Regions from separate parts of the Homo sapiens genome. Here region 1 is linked to region 2. The links are contacts of gene promoters, found by promoter capture Hi-C in human tissues and cell types (Jung and others, 2019). All regions are on one chromosome and are shown on one strand. Each heading gives the region's core, a stretch centred on a gene start or on the middle of the fragment in contact. The rest is flanking DNA. Distances are from core to core; before and after follow the strand shown. Region 1 has its middle 67 kb from the start of MMD. Region 2 holds the start of HLF (HLF transcription factor, PAR bZIP family member).

Region 1 (6,249 bases), core at 2,996-5,495, 91 kb after region 2:
TTGCAGAAATAGGAAGTGAAGGCTAAGACAGCATTATAGACTGCCTGCCAGAGCACTGAATACACATTGCAACACATAGAGAGAGCCCTTTGGCAAAAGCTAAGAAACTTATTAATGCCAGGCACTTAGGGAAATTTGTGTCCAATCATTACTAGCCACTAAACTAACTAAGTGGAGACTTCACAGAGTTAATTTATAAAAGTCACGATATAAGCAAACAATACAACAACAAAAACAAACAGCAACAATAACAAGCTCTGGAGAAGAAAGGAATCTGATTTCCAGGGTTGCCACATTATATCATTTAAAATATCCAGTCTTCAATAAAAAATTATGAGACATGGAAGGAAAGGACAGCATGGCCCATATACAGAGAAAAAGGTACTTAATGGAAACTTTCTCTGAGGAAACCCAGATGTTAGATTTACTAGACAAAGGATTTAAATCAACTACTATCAATATGCTTACAGACCTAAAGAAAACCAGGTGTAAAGAATAAAATAAAGGCCAGTCATGGTGGCTAGTGCCTGTAATCCCAGCACTTTGGGAGGCCAAGGCAGGAGGATCACTTGAGCTCAGCAGTTTGAGACCAGCCTGGGCAACATAGCAAGACCGTGTCTCTAAAAAAACAAAAACAAAAATTAGCCAGGCGTGATGGTGCACACCTGTGGTCCCAGCTACTGGTTGAGGCTGAGATGGAAGGGTCATTTGAGCCTAGGAGGTCAACACTGCAATGAGTTATGATCTCACCACTGCACACCAGCCTGGGTAACAGAGTGAGATCCTGTCTCAAATAAATAAATAAATATAAATAAAATCAAAGTATTATTTTAAATGAGAACATGCTTCACCAAATGTAGAATATTAATAAAGCTATAGAATTTATAAGAAGGTAATAAAATAGAGGCTCTAGAGTTGAAAAGTACAATAGCTGAAATGAGAAATTCAATGGCAGACTTGAGTGAGCGGAAAGAACGAATCAATGAATTTGAAGATGGGCTGCTTGCAATTATCCAGTCTGAGAACAGAAAGTAAAAGAATTGAGAAAAACAAAGCTTCAGAGACCTGTGAGACACCATCAAGCTCACCAACATACACATAATGATAGTTCCAGAAGAAACAAGAGAAAAAGGGGGAAGAAAGAATATCTGAGGAAATAATGGCCAAAAACTTCCCAGATTTGATGAAAAACATTTATCTGCACATCTAGGAAGCTCAATAAACTCTAAGTAGGATAAATGTAAGAGAGCTACACCTAGACACATTAAAATCAAACTGTCAAATGCCAAAGACGGAGAATCTTGAAAGCAGCAAAAGAGAAGCAACTCATTATGTACAAGTGATCTTCAATAATATTAACAACTGATTTCTCATCAGGAACCATGGAGGCCTTATTCAGAGTACAGAAAGAAAAAGAGGCCTCAAGAGGATTGTTTGAGGCCAGGAGCTCAAGACTAGCCTGGAAAACATAGTGAGGCCCTATGTCTATTCTTCTTTTTTTAATTAGCCAGGGGTGGTGATGCATGCCCATAGTCCTAAGCTACTTGGGAAACTGGGGCAGGAGAATCACTTCAGCCCAGGAAGTGATTCAAGTTTACAAGGAGCTATGATCATGATGCTGCACTCCAGCCTTGGCAATGACGTGAAATCCTGTCTCTTAAAAAAAAAAAAAAAAAATGAATTCTGTATTCACCAAAAACACTATCCTTCAAAAATAAACGAGAAAACCACACATTGACAGGTTTTTCAAAAAAAAAAAAAAAAAAAGAATGTATTACCAGCAGACCTGCCCTGTAAGAAATACTACCAAGAGTCCTTCAGGCTGACAGGAAAGAAGACTTGCTCAAATACTCATGAAGAAAAAATAAGGAACATGAGTAAAAGTAACTACATAGATAAATATAAAATGTAGTATGAATGTACTTTTGTTTGTAATTCTTTTCTTTTTCTATGTGATTTATAAGACATCTCTATAAAACAATGACTATAAAACTGTGTTGATGGATTTATAATGTATAATTATAACAGTAATAGCACAAAGGAGGGGGGAGAAAATGGAGATCTGTAGACACAGTTTTTTGTATACTATTGAAATTAAATTGGGATTAATCCAAATTAGATTGTTAAAAATTAAAGTGTTGAATGTAATCTCCAGAGCAGCCACTAAGAAAATAACTAAAAATATATATAGTATAAGACATGACATGGGAAATATAAATGGTACACTAGAAAATATCTGTGTAACACAAAACAAGGCAACAATTGAAGAACAGAAAAATAAAAAAGATAGGCTGTATAGAAAACAAATAGCAAAATGGCCTAAGTAAATTCTACCTTATCAGTAATTATATTAAATATAAGTAGATTAAACACTCCAATCAAAAGGCAGAGATTGGCAGAATGAATTTAAAAAAACTAAAAATCACAGGATCCAACTACATGCTGTCTGCAAGAGGCAAACTGCAGATTCAAAGACATAAACAAATTGAAAGTAAAAAGATAGAAAAAGATATATCATGCACACCCAAAGTGCTCAGGTTACAGATGTGAGCCACCATACCCGGTTGGAAAGAAAAACTTTAGCTGGTCTGATAGGGGTCAAAAATATTTTTGAAAGGGCTTCTATAAAAAGAAGTGCAATTTTATCTAGCTCTCAAAGATGGAGATAGGTAGTACCCGTGGGTACAAGTGACAGGGAGACACATTTTGGCTTAATATGTGATTGCCTATAAATGAAAGAGGTGCCTGCTCTTGGGATTGTGCAAAAGGTTCTCTATCAGAGATACCCTAGATAGAAACTGGATGAGGAGGGTAGATTACAGGATACAAAGTCAACACTTTTCTGCAAGTCACTGAGCAGAAATGGTATTTAACTACACAGCTATCTTTCCTCTCCTGCAGTTCTTTTTTTTCTGAATGAGGGAAGAATGACCTTGATAATGGTTATTTTTATTTCTTTTTTTCTTCATTATTTTTAGCTAGTAATTTTACCATTTAGGGTCCAATTATAGACCTTAGAAACCACTGCAGACGGTTTTAAAAACTAAGAAATTATTCCCAGGTATTAAATGAATTACTAATGGTTGGGAAGGTCCAAGGATCAGGTTCCTAGTTAAGTTTCTAAGAACAGCTCCCAGCCCCTAAGATCACTCTGCTTAGGAGAGCTGCTGATGTTACTGCCAGAAACCAAATCAGGAAGCTGCTAACTATAGAGCCACATCACTGCCATAACTTCTTGAAAGAAGACTTAGTGCAGGAGATTCTTAGCTGGACCTTGGTGAATTGGTAAGATTTGTGTGACATTAGACAGTCAAACTGTCTGAACCTTAGTTTGCTTATCTGGAATATTGGGATAATTTTACCTGCCATAACTACTTTATGAAGTTTCTATGCAGATTCAATGAGATAAAGTATGAAAGTGCTTTGAAATCAGTTAATCTCTCTCTGTATTTTTTTCTATTATTCAGTACCTGATAGACAGTAATCACCCAATAAATATTTGCTGAATTTAATGGAATAAAGTGTAATCCTCAAACTAAGATATTGACCTGAGAATGTACAATAATGCTGTGTACAAAAGGCTTCCTAACTGCATTCAAGTTGGTAGATGTCTATTGACTAGAAATGTGAAATAGGATAGGATTGTTAGAGGGGCCTCAAATATGGATGGTCTGGAAAACAGGCAAAGAAGCTTAGAATCCATAAATACCAAGCATAAGAGCTTTGGAGTCAGACAGATGTCAGTTTAAGCCCTGGCTCTGCCACTTCCTAGTTAGCTATTTAATCCCAGGCAAGTAATGTGTGTGTGTGTGTGTGTGTGTGTGTGCACACGCGTGCAGGTGTGTATAAACATACATATATGTATTTCAAACTGATATATATAATCAGTTGCTAGATGCTCTTCATTCTTTCTTTTTCTCATTTTCACAAAAGCTAAAAAATCCTAACAACACAGTGGCTTCCCAGGTCCATGAGAAGACTGGGTTATTTCCAGGAGGGGAGAGGCAAATATGAATTATAACTAAAGACAAGAAACACGATTAATGCCACAAATTGGGCTCAGACCCTGATCCTAGACTAGCATGAAGCAATGGACAGAATGAGAAGAAAAACAGGAGAAATACTGCAAAGAAGGATGCAAAGTGAAAAGGATGCAGCTGTGACTGAGCCGAGCGTGCCCTGAGGCAGCTGGGGTGAAGGCGTTGGATCATCCTTCTGCCTCATTTTCTCCATCCTCACAACCATCCTTTATCCTGGGTCTTCATCCATTCACCTTACTGTTTGAACCATTAGAGTGGGTTTCAAACTGTATTACACAGAGATGCACCCAAGATTCTTCCAACATTCTATTCCGTTTTCAAAAACTACCATTTTCTGGACTGTTAGAAGGTGAGAAAGCAGCTTAGTAGATGGAGACCCAGGCTTGCTACTCTTGTTTCAGCCAGAACAACAGCTTCATTTTTATTTCTGTTAACTATTGTGATTTCTCTTAAAATTTAATTATATTAGGAATTTCTGCTTTAATAGTGTTTGACTTCACATCAATCTGTTTCAACATTGCCATGGGCATCCCTGGCCTTTGACGCTCTTCTTTCCTGCACTCCACTCTAAATAAATCGAGCTAAATTCATTCTGGCTGGCCGCAGTGGCTCATACCTGTAATCCTAGCACTTTGGGAGGCCGAGGCAGGTGGATCACTTGAGGTCAGGAGTTCGAGACCAGCTTAGTCAACGTGGCAAAACCCCGTCTCTACTAAAAATGTAAAAATTAGCCAGGTGTGGTGGTGTGTTCCTGTAATGCCAGCTATTCAGGTGGCTGAGGCAGAAGAATTTATCGAACCTGGGAGACAGGTTGCTGTGAGCTGAGATCGCAGGACTGCACTCCAGCCTGGGTGACAGAGTGAGACCTTGTCTCAAAAAAAAATAAAATAAAATAAAAATCAATCAATCAATCATGCTAAATTCATTCTTCATTAAGTTGTCCTCTCCCTGCTCCAGATTGTCTGTTGACTTTTTATCATCCTCTGGACATGGGCTAAATCCTCAGCCAAGCCTCTGGGGAACTCTTCAATAAAAACAAAAGGAATGGCATAATGATGCCTTAAGCTATTGAGAATCCTTAGCACATGGCAGACACTCAATAAGTAAATGCCAACTTACTACAGTTGATTGCTCCTTAAGGGAGCCTTTGAATCCCCTCAACTCATGGAACAGTGCCTTGTACACAGGAAAGTACCTTGCAAATCAAGAGACACTCCCCCTTTCACAGCATAGTTCCTTTTGCTTAGCTAAGCTTCCAAGTTGGGGAAATGGCTTGGTGATGTTTAGGAAGGATCCTGAATTTCCATCTTCTGTAGGAAATGGTATGGCAATGTTTATAACATGCCTTCAACCTCTTTCTTTTGTTTTCTGGGAAAATACCTACCTCTGGCTGGCTTACAAATGTAAACGTGAGCCTACAAATGTAACTGCTAGAGCGACCTAACTGAATCCCTCTAGTCCTTCATCATTATACATGGTTCTTGGTGCCCCCTTGTGGCAATCTGTCATCATGCAGGGTTACCAAGATGAACATGACAGCCATCCTTTAGGGGATGCCTAACTCTGAGACAAATACCATGCTAGGCATTTTCAATGGATTAGCTCATTTACTCTCACCACAATCCCCTGAGGTAGCTACTATTAGTTTAATAACATGTGCTAAGTAACACAGCTAACAAGTGGCAGACTAGAGACTTGAATTCAGGCTGGTTACACTGGAGCTTGTGCTTTTCACTTCTATATTAGGTGCAAAGAGATATTATGGTGAATATATAAAGAGGAATTAAGAGGTGGGACTTCTGGGAGAATGGAATAACAAGTTTGGTGGACTCTTTCCCCAGCAAAACAACAATCGAATTAGAGAAAATTATTTAAAATATCCATCATTTAAAGTGTCTGGAAAGTGTTGTAAGGGCCATACAGCAAATAAGAAACATTAATTCAAGAAAATCTTTAAAATTTCAATCATAATAGCAAGAGTCTGTGGCATTTGAGCTGCGATTTGCCCATTAATCTTCTTCCTTATTATGGAAACTCTACCCAGTATATGAGCAGCCAAGACAGGGCTCCATCTCTCTCTACATCCTAGTTTGAGGCTATGGTTTCACCCTAAAAAAGACAGGATGCTAGTATTTCTCACTCCACTAAGCCCCAGTCTGCAGAAGTTCTGTTCCACATGAGTATGCCAAGAAGTGTCATCCAACCCCCA
Region 2 (6,326 bases), core at 3,500-5,999:
CTGAAGGGTTTTTCAGTGGCTTGTCAAATGTTCTTTATCTAGTATTTGTTTGTTCGAATTTCTCTAACAAAGAGGTTTAGTTTTGACTTACTGTTTAAGCACATGCAGGTTAAGACAGGAGCACTGAGGCATTACTAGTTGTAACCAAAGACATCCAATAGGCTTAATTATTTGCTCATACACAAAAAAGCAAATTGGATAATGCCTCTGCTTTTGGCTCTTATCTAACTTAATGTGGACAACTTTGTAGAGGTCTTGTCAACAAACTGAATGAGCCACTGAAAGTGAGGCATTCATTTTAGCCGTAAACTTTGGTGAACTTTTTTCTGTTGCTGGATATGAATCAGATCCCAGGAAACTTAGAAAGAACATAGAAATAGCATTATTCTGTCCTTAGTGATAAAATACCCATTTTTCCTCGGGATCAAAAGTTTGGGTCACCCACAAATACACAGTCAAATAATTGTCAGCAATAACATCAAAAGAATTCAAGGGGGGGCCGGGCGCGGTGGCTCACGCCTGTAATCCCAGCACTCTGGGAAGCCAAGGTCCACGGATCACCTGAGGTCGGGAGTTCGAGACCAGCCTGGCCAACATGGAGAACCCCGTCGCTACTAAAAATATTAATACTAAATACTAATACCCCATCGCTACTAAAAATACTAATAAAAATTGCCGGATGTGGCGGCTGGTGCCTGTAATCCCAGCTACTCAGGAGGCTGAGGCAGGAGAATTGCTTGAACCTAGGAGGCGGAGGTTGCGGTGAGCTGAGATCACGCCATTGCACTCCAGTCTGGGCAACAAGAGCGAGACTCCATCTCAAAACAAAACAAAACAAACAACAACAACAAACAATTCAAGGGGGAAATGAAAGTCTAAAACAATTGGATATCCCCATGAGTAAAACCAACCTTAATCCTTACCTCATAGTATACACAAAAATTAATTTGAAATGGGTCATAAGGCTAAATGAAAAAGCTTAAACTATGAAAGTTATAAAGGAAAGTATAGGAGAATATCTCCAGAACTCAGGAGTAGTCAAAAGTTTCCTAGTTCATAGCAAGCAATAATCATGAAAAACAAATTGATAAATTGAACTTTGTCAAAATTAAAAACTGCTCATGGAAAGACGTTATTATAAAAACTAATCAGCAAGCCACAGATTGGAAGAAAATATTCACAACACACAAACATCTGACAAAGAGACTATCCAAAGTATATAAAAGAACTCCTAAAATTCAGTAATCAAAAGATAACCAAATTCAAAAATGGGCAAGAGACTTGAACAGGAAGATGTACAAGCTACTAAGAAGCACATGAAGTAGCACATGCCATCATTTTTCATCAGGAAAATTCAGATGAAAGGTCCATTGAGAACTGACTATCCACCCACTAGAATGGCTACAAGTTTTAAGAGAAACTGACACCACTAAATATTGGTGAGGCGCTAGAACAACCAGAACTCTCATATACTGCTGCTGGAAATGCAGGACAATTTACCTGCTTCAGAAGACTATAGAAGAGCTTCTTCTAAAGTAAAACACACATCTTTTCTATGATCCAGTAATCCTACTCCTATTTGTTTATCCAAGAGAAAGGAAAGCATGTGTTCACAAAAGAACTCAGACAAGAATTCTCATAAACATTTTATTCATGCCTAAAAACTGGAAACAACCCAAATGTCCACCAATACAACAGATAAACTTTTGTATATTCATAGAGCGGAATACTACTCACTAATATAAAGAAATGAACTATATGCAACATTGGTGAATGTCTAAAATACTGTGCAGAGTGAAAGAAGCTACACACAAGAGAGTATATACAGTATGATTTCACTTGTATGAAATTATAAAACAAGCAAAATGAATCTATGGTGTAAGGAGGCCATGTAAAGAGAAAGAGAAGGCCAGCCAGCCCAGTATCCCAGCTGAGCCTAACCTAGATTGCAGAATAATGAGAAATAATAAAATGATTGTTGTTTTAAGCCACTAGGTTTTGGAGTGATCTGTTACACAGCAATCAATAATCAGCATCATTGCTTTCCTCATGGAATTGTCAGAAGTATGTGATATGACACATATGGAAGGGCTCTGTAAGTGGACAAGTGCTAAGCACTTGTGAGCGGCAGTTATCTCTGGGCATATGTGCAGATTGGGGTTAGTGCTCATTAGGGATATGTCCATTTGAGAATTAACCTGTGGAATTCAGAGGGTCTTACTACCCAACCAATATAACCTTTGGTTTCTTCTATCCCTCTCCTTCCTCTTGAGCAGCCATCCACAACTGCTTCTGGGGAAGAGAGAGAGAGAAAGAGAAAGAAAGATGTTCATGGTTTGTTAAAAAAATAAAAGAAAATAACATTTACAAATGGCCAGAGTAGAAAAGATGTACCAATTTCATTTATCTTGTTAAGGAATGGGGCTAGATTGAAGATTAGCCAATGCTTATAATTTTTGAGGCTCTAAGAAATACCTTTGAAGTTAGAGAAGGATGGAGAGAAGTGAGAGGGAGTCACCATGGTCTAAGGGGCTGGTCCTCAATCTGGTCCGTGACATGTTGATCAGGCTCAGGGAAATTAAATTAAATGAACCAAATTCCCAAGAAACTGCTTGATCAACCAGAACGCCAGTTTATCCACTTGCAATGAGAAATGCAATTTCCAAGCCACAGTATTTGGTTCTGTCAGGTGGTAAGGAGAAGATTACCCTGGGAAACCAGATTACTTGACCTGGTAAGAGTTTCATGTCTGGAAACATGGGGAAGTGAGGACATGCGGAGAATCATGAGCAGGTGGAGCACTTTGGGCGTGCTGAGTAATGTCAGTGGACTGTTACACAAAGCTTAGGTAACGCATCTTTCATGCACCTGGAATCTGCAATCTAACAGATTTCTAACCAGGCTGAGAGGATGCTCTCAGTCCTGCCAGTTTATGGACTTACAGGGATGTAAGGAACTCAAGACAGGGAAATAGCCTCTGTCTCCAAAAGGATAGCGGAGATGAGGTCCCTTTTTTATTTTTTAAAAAAACAATATAATATAATTGATGGATTCAGACCGTTCACGAGAGACTATTACCTCCACGCCCAGCTCAGGCACCTTCTCTAGAATCCCTTTCCTAATAATGTAAGTGCCCCTGTCACCTCCATCTATCCATTTTTGTTCTTTTAAGCCTATTTTATATTATTTGCTTATATGCCAAACCCTAAACGATGAGTTCTTGAAGGTTAAAATTATGTTTTATTCATCTTTTTTCACTAGCCCCCGCATAGTCGCTGGCATACATACCGTGGTGCTCAATAAATGCATGTGGCATTAACTAAAAGTTTGCTGTTTCTGGAATTCGTCTGAAACCTGAAACACTGCAACAACATCTCACTTAGAATGTTGCCTTACCCTTTTGCCATAATTTTAGAGTGAGGAAGTAGAGGTCACTAGATTACGTGTCCTTTTATGAAGAACCTACAGCTCAGGGCAGAAAGGCACTTGCCGGAATCACCCTGCCAGGGAACTCTGAACCCCGCTGCGCCGCCGCTCCTGATCTCTGGGGTTTCAGGCGCCTCCTCTCTTACAACCCTCTCCTGGGGAAGTAAACCCCATCAAGACACCACCACATCCTTCCCCAGCGACTCAGCCTGGGGTCACAAAGGCCTTTACGTCCCACTGAAAAACGGTTTTCTTTCATTTGTGCCCATTCGTTCTTGCAGCCCCTTCCCCAGATCGAAGACTAGGGTCTTAGTAAGGAGAGGTAAGGAGGGAGGGGAAGAACCTGCCTGGCCCCCCGCGGAGCTCTGCAGGGGGCGTCGCGGCTGCACGCCAGCGCCCGCACCACCCCAGGCGGGAAGGGAGTTATCACACAGGGGGTCGCACGCAGATCTCGGGGACCGTGGGTGCCACGAGGTCAAACTGGCAGAGGGAGACGCTGCAGCTGCTGTAACAGCAAGGAAAGCCGAAGCCCCCTTAGGGGATACTTTACAAAATTATTTTAATCACCGTGCAAACCTAATAACTTGACCCAAGCGCAATCACCTGTATTCACCCAGAGTAAATATTCCTAAAATCCCGTTCAGTGTGTCTGTGTCTCTCCCGCCTCTTTCCGTTTCAGGCAAATGTCTACCCCCCCTCTCCCCCCACCGTTAACACCTCTCTGCAGCGTGGGAAACAGTGCCCAGCAGCTCAGTCCTCCGCTTCCCGCTCTGCTTTTTGCATCCCATTCGGACTTATAGGAAGTAGTTATTTTTTGGTGGTGGTGGAAACTGGGCAAGAAAGAAGACGCTAAGCTTGGCCGGGGCCAGGAGAAATATTGAGAAGGGTCGTTACCTTCCATCCGATCTAAACCAATCATCTCAAACTTGGCTACTCTTTGGAACCACCTGGGGAGCTTTAAAAATTATGGACGCCCTGATAGCACCGCAGAGGTTCTGATCTAATTGATCTGGGATGCGGCCTGGGTATCGCGATTTTTTTAAAACTCCTCAGGTTATTCCCAGCTTGAAAACTATGGATATAAATTTCTCATTCCTCTTCCCACCCAGACCAAAAAAAAAAAAAAAAATCTAAGCCTAAGTTGATGGCCCAGGGAATCTGGCACCTGCTCCCCTGCAACCAGCCAGTGCTGCAAGGTCCCCGAAAATCGGCGCGAGCGGCGACGCTAAACACGCGGCGGCGGGGCGAGCGGGCCAGGCGGGCGGTGCCGCGCGTGGCCCCGCCCCCGCACGCCTATGGGCGCGAGGTGCGGGCCCTGACGTCACTCTTGTCAGGGCCGCGGCACATGGGCGGCCGGATGCGCTGAGCCCGGCGCTGCGGGGCCGCGGAGCGCTGGGGAGCAGCGGCCGCCGGCGCGGGGAGGGGGGTGGGGTGGGACGGCGCACCGCCTCCGGTGCTGGCACTAGGGGCTGGGGTCGGCGCGGTGTCTTCTGCCCTTCTGCAGCCGTCGACATTTTTTTTTCTTTCTTTTTTTCAATTTTGAACATTTTGCAAAACGAGGGGTTCGAGGCAGGTGAGAGCATCCTGCACGTCGCCGGGGAGCCCGCGGGCACTTGGCGCGCTCTCCTGGGACCGTCTGCACTGGAAACCCGAAAGTTTTTTTTTAATATATATTTTTATGCAGATGTATTTATAAAGATATAAGTAATTTTTTTCTTCCCTTTTCTCCACCGCCTTGAGAGCGAGTACTTTTGGCAAAGGACGGAGGAAAAGCTCAGCAACATTTTAGGGGGCGGTTGTTTCTTTCTTATTTCTTTTTTTAAGGGGAAAAAATTTGAGTGCATCGCGATGGAGAAAATGTCCCGACCGCTCCCCCTGAATCCCACCTTTATCCCGCCTCCCTACGGCGTGCTCAGGTCCCTGCTGGAGAACCCGCTGAAGCTCCCCCTTCACCACGAAGACGGTGAGCGCTGCCGCGGCCCCGCTCCGGGAAGGGACGACGCTCCGGGGGTCCCCCTCCGCGGCCGGGCACGCCCGCTGGAGCATCCCCCAACCCCGCTCCCGCCCTGTCCCGCGGCGCCCCGGCCCCGCGCTGATGAAATTGAGGAGCTCACCCAGCACCCTTCCTCCCCTTCCTCCTCCTCCATGAAAGGGGAGGGACCCCTCCTGAGCTACATTTAAAAGAGCTTCGGGCACCCGGCCTCCCTGGGTCCCGCTCCTGCGGCGCGGGTGGGAGGTGTAACTTGACAGGTCAGGATCGTTCCCTAGAACGAGGCACACCCGCACGCAGAGCGAGCCCGCCTGCGGAGGGCAGAGCCTCCCGGGCTGGGGAGGAGAAACCCTGGGGCCTGGTTCTGTGCGGGGCAGGGGGCGGGGGTCGGCTTGAGGGAGGGGGTTTCACTGCGTAGCCTGGGTTTTGGGGTTGTGTTACAGCTTCTGTTACTGGTTAGTATTTGGAACTCACGAGGTGTGAGAGAAGACTCGTTTTCTTCTGGTGAAGGGTAGCTGAGAAAGCGGGGTGGGGGCTGGGGCCGGTGGGGGGAGTGGTCTCTCGGCGGGAAGCCGTGCACGCCTCCAGCGTTGACACTTTCCCGGTGCACTTTTTCTGGTGGGAGGGGAGAGCGGAGCAGGCTCACGTGTAACCGCGCAGGAGCCTCCTCTGGCTTGAGCCCTTTCTTGGTAAGTCCCAAACCTTCCCAAGACAACCTTGGCCTTAGCAGTAGAGGAGGGGTACGTGTGATGAGGCCCCAAACCCGGCTAAGTGATGCCACGGATTTGGGTTGATGCGATTTCATGCCTTCGGTATCACAGTAGCAAATGCGAACCGTGCGGCTCACAGTGTAAAGTTCTGAAAGGTTATTTGGCTACAAATAGCTTGGGAGTACTTGCACCTTCTTTTC

Evidence for each region. The method cuts DNA at HindIII sites, captures the fragments that hold promoters and counts their contacts. A contact is called where the count stands out against the background at its distance.
Region 1: a contact is called between a fragment that was not itself captured here and the fragment with the promoter of HLF in region 2, in 2 of the 25 tissues and cell types used here (dorsolateral prefrontal cortex and hippocampus).

What each region holds. Positions count from the first base shown.
Region 1 is chr17:55,351,384-55,357,632 of GRCh38, forward strand. No RefSeq gene overlaps it. Among named protein-coding and RNA genes, the nearest start is that of MMD, 67 kb to the right of the region's middle. The HindIII fragment of the contact is 3,744 bases long and covers 2,374-6,117 here.
Region 2 is chr17:55,260,211-55,266,536 of GRCh38, forward strand. HLF (HLF transcription factor, PAR bZIP family member) reads left to right here and starts at 4,750. Exons shown (of 4, transcript NM_002126.5): 1 at 4,750-5,389. The coding sequence starts at 5,275. RefSeq lists a silencer at 4,554-4,873. The HindIII fragment of the contact is 14,198 bases long and covers 3,562-6,326 here.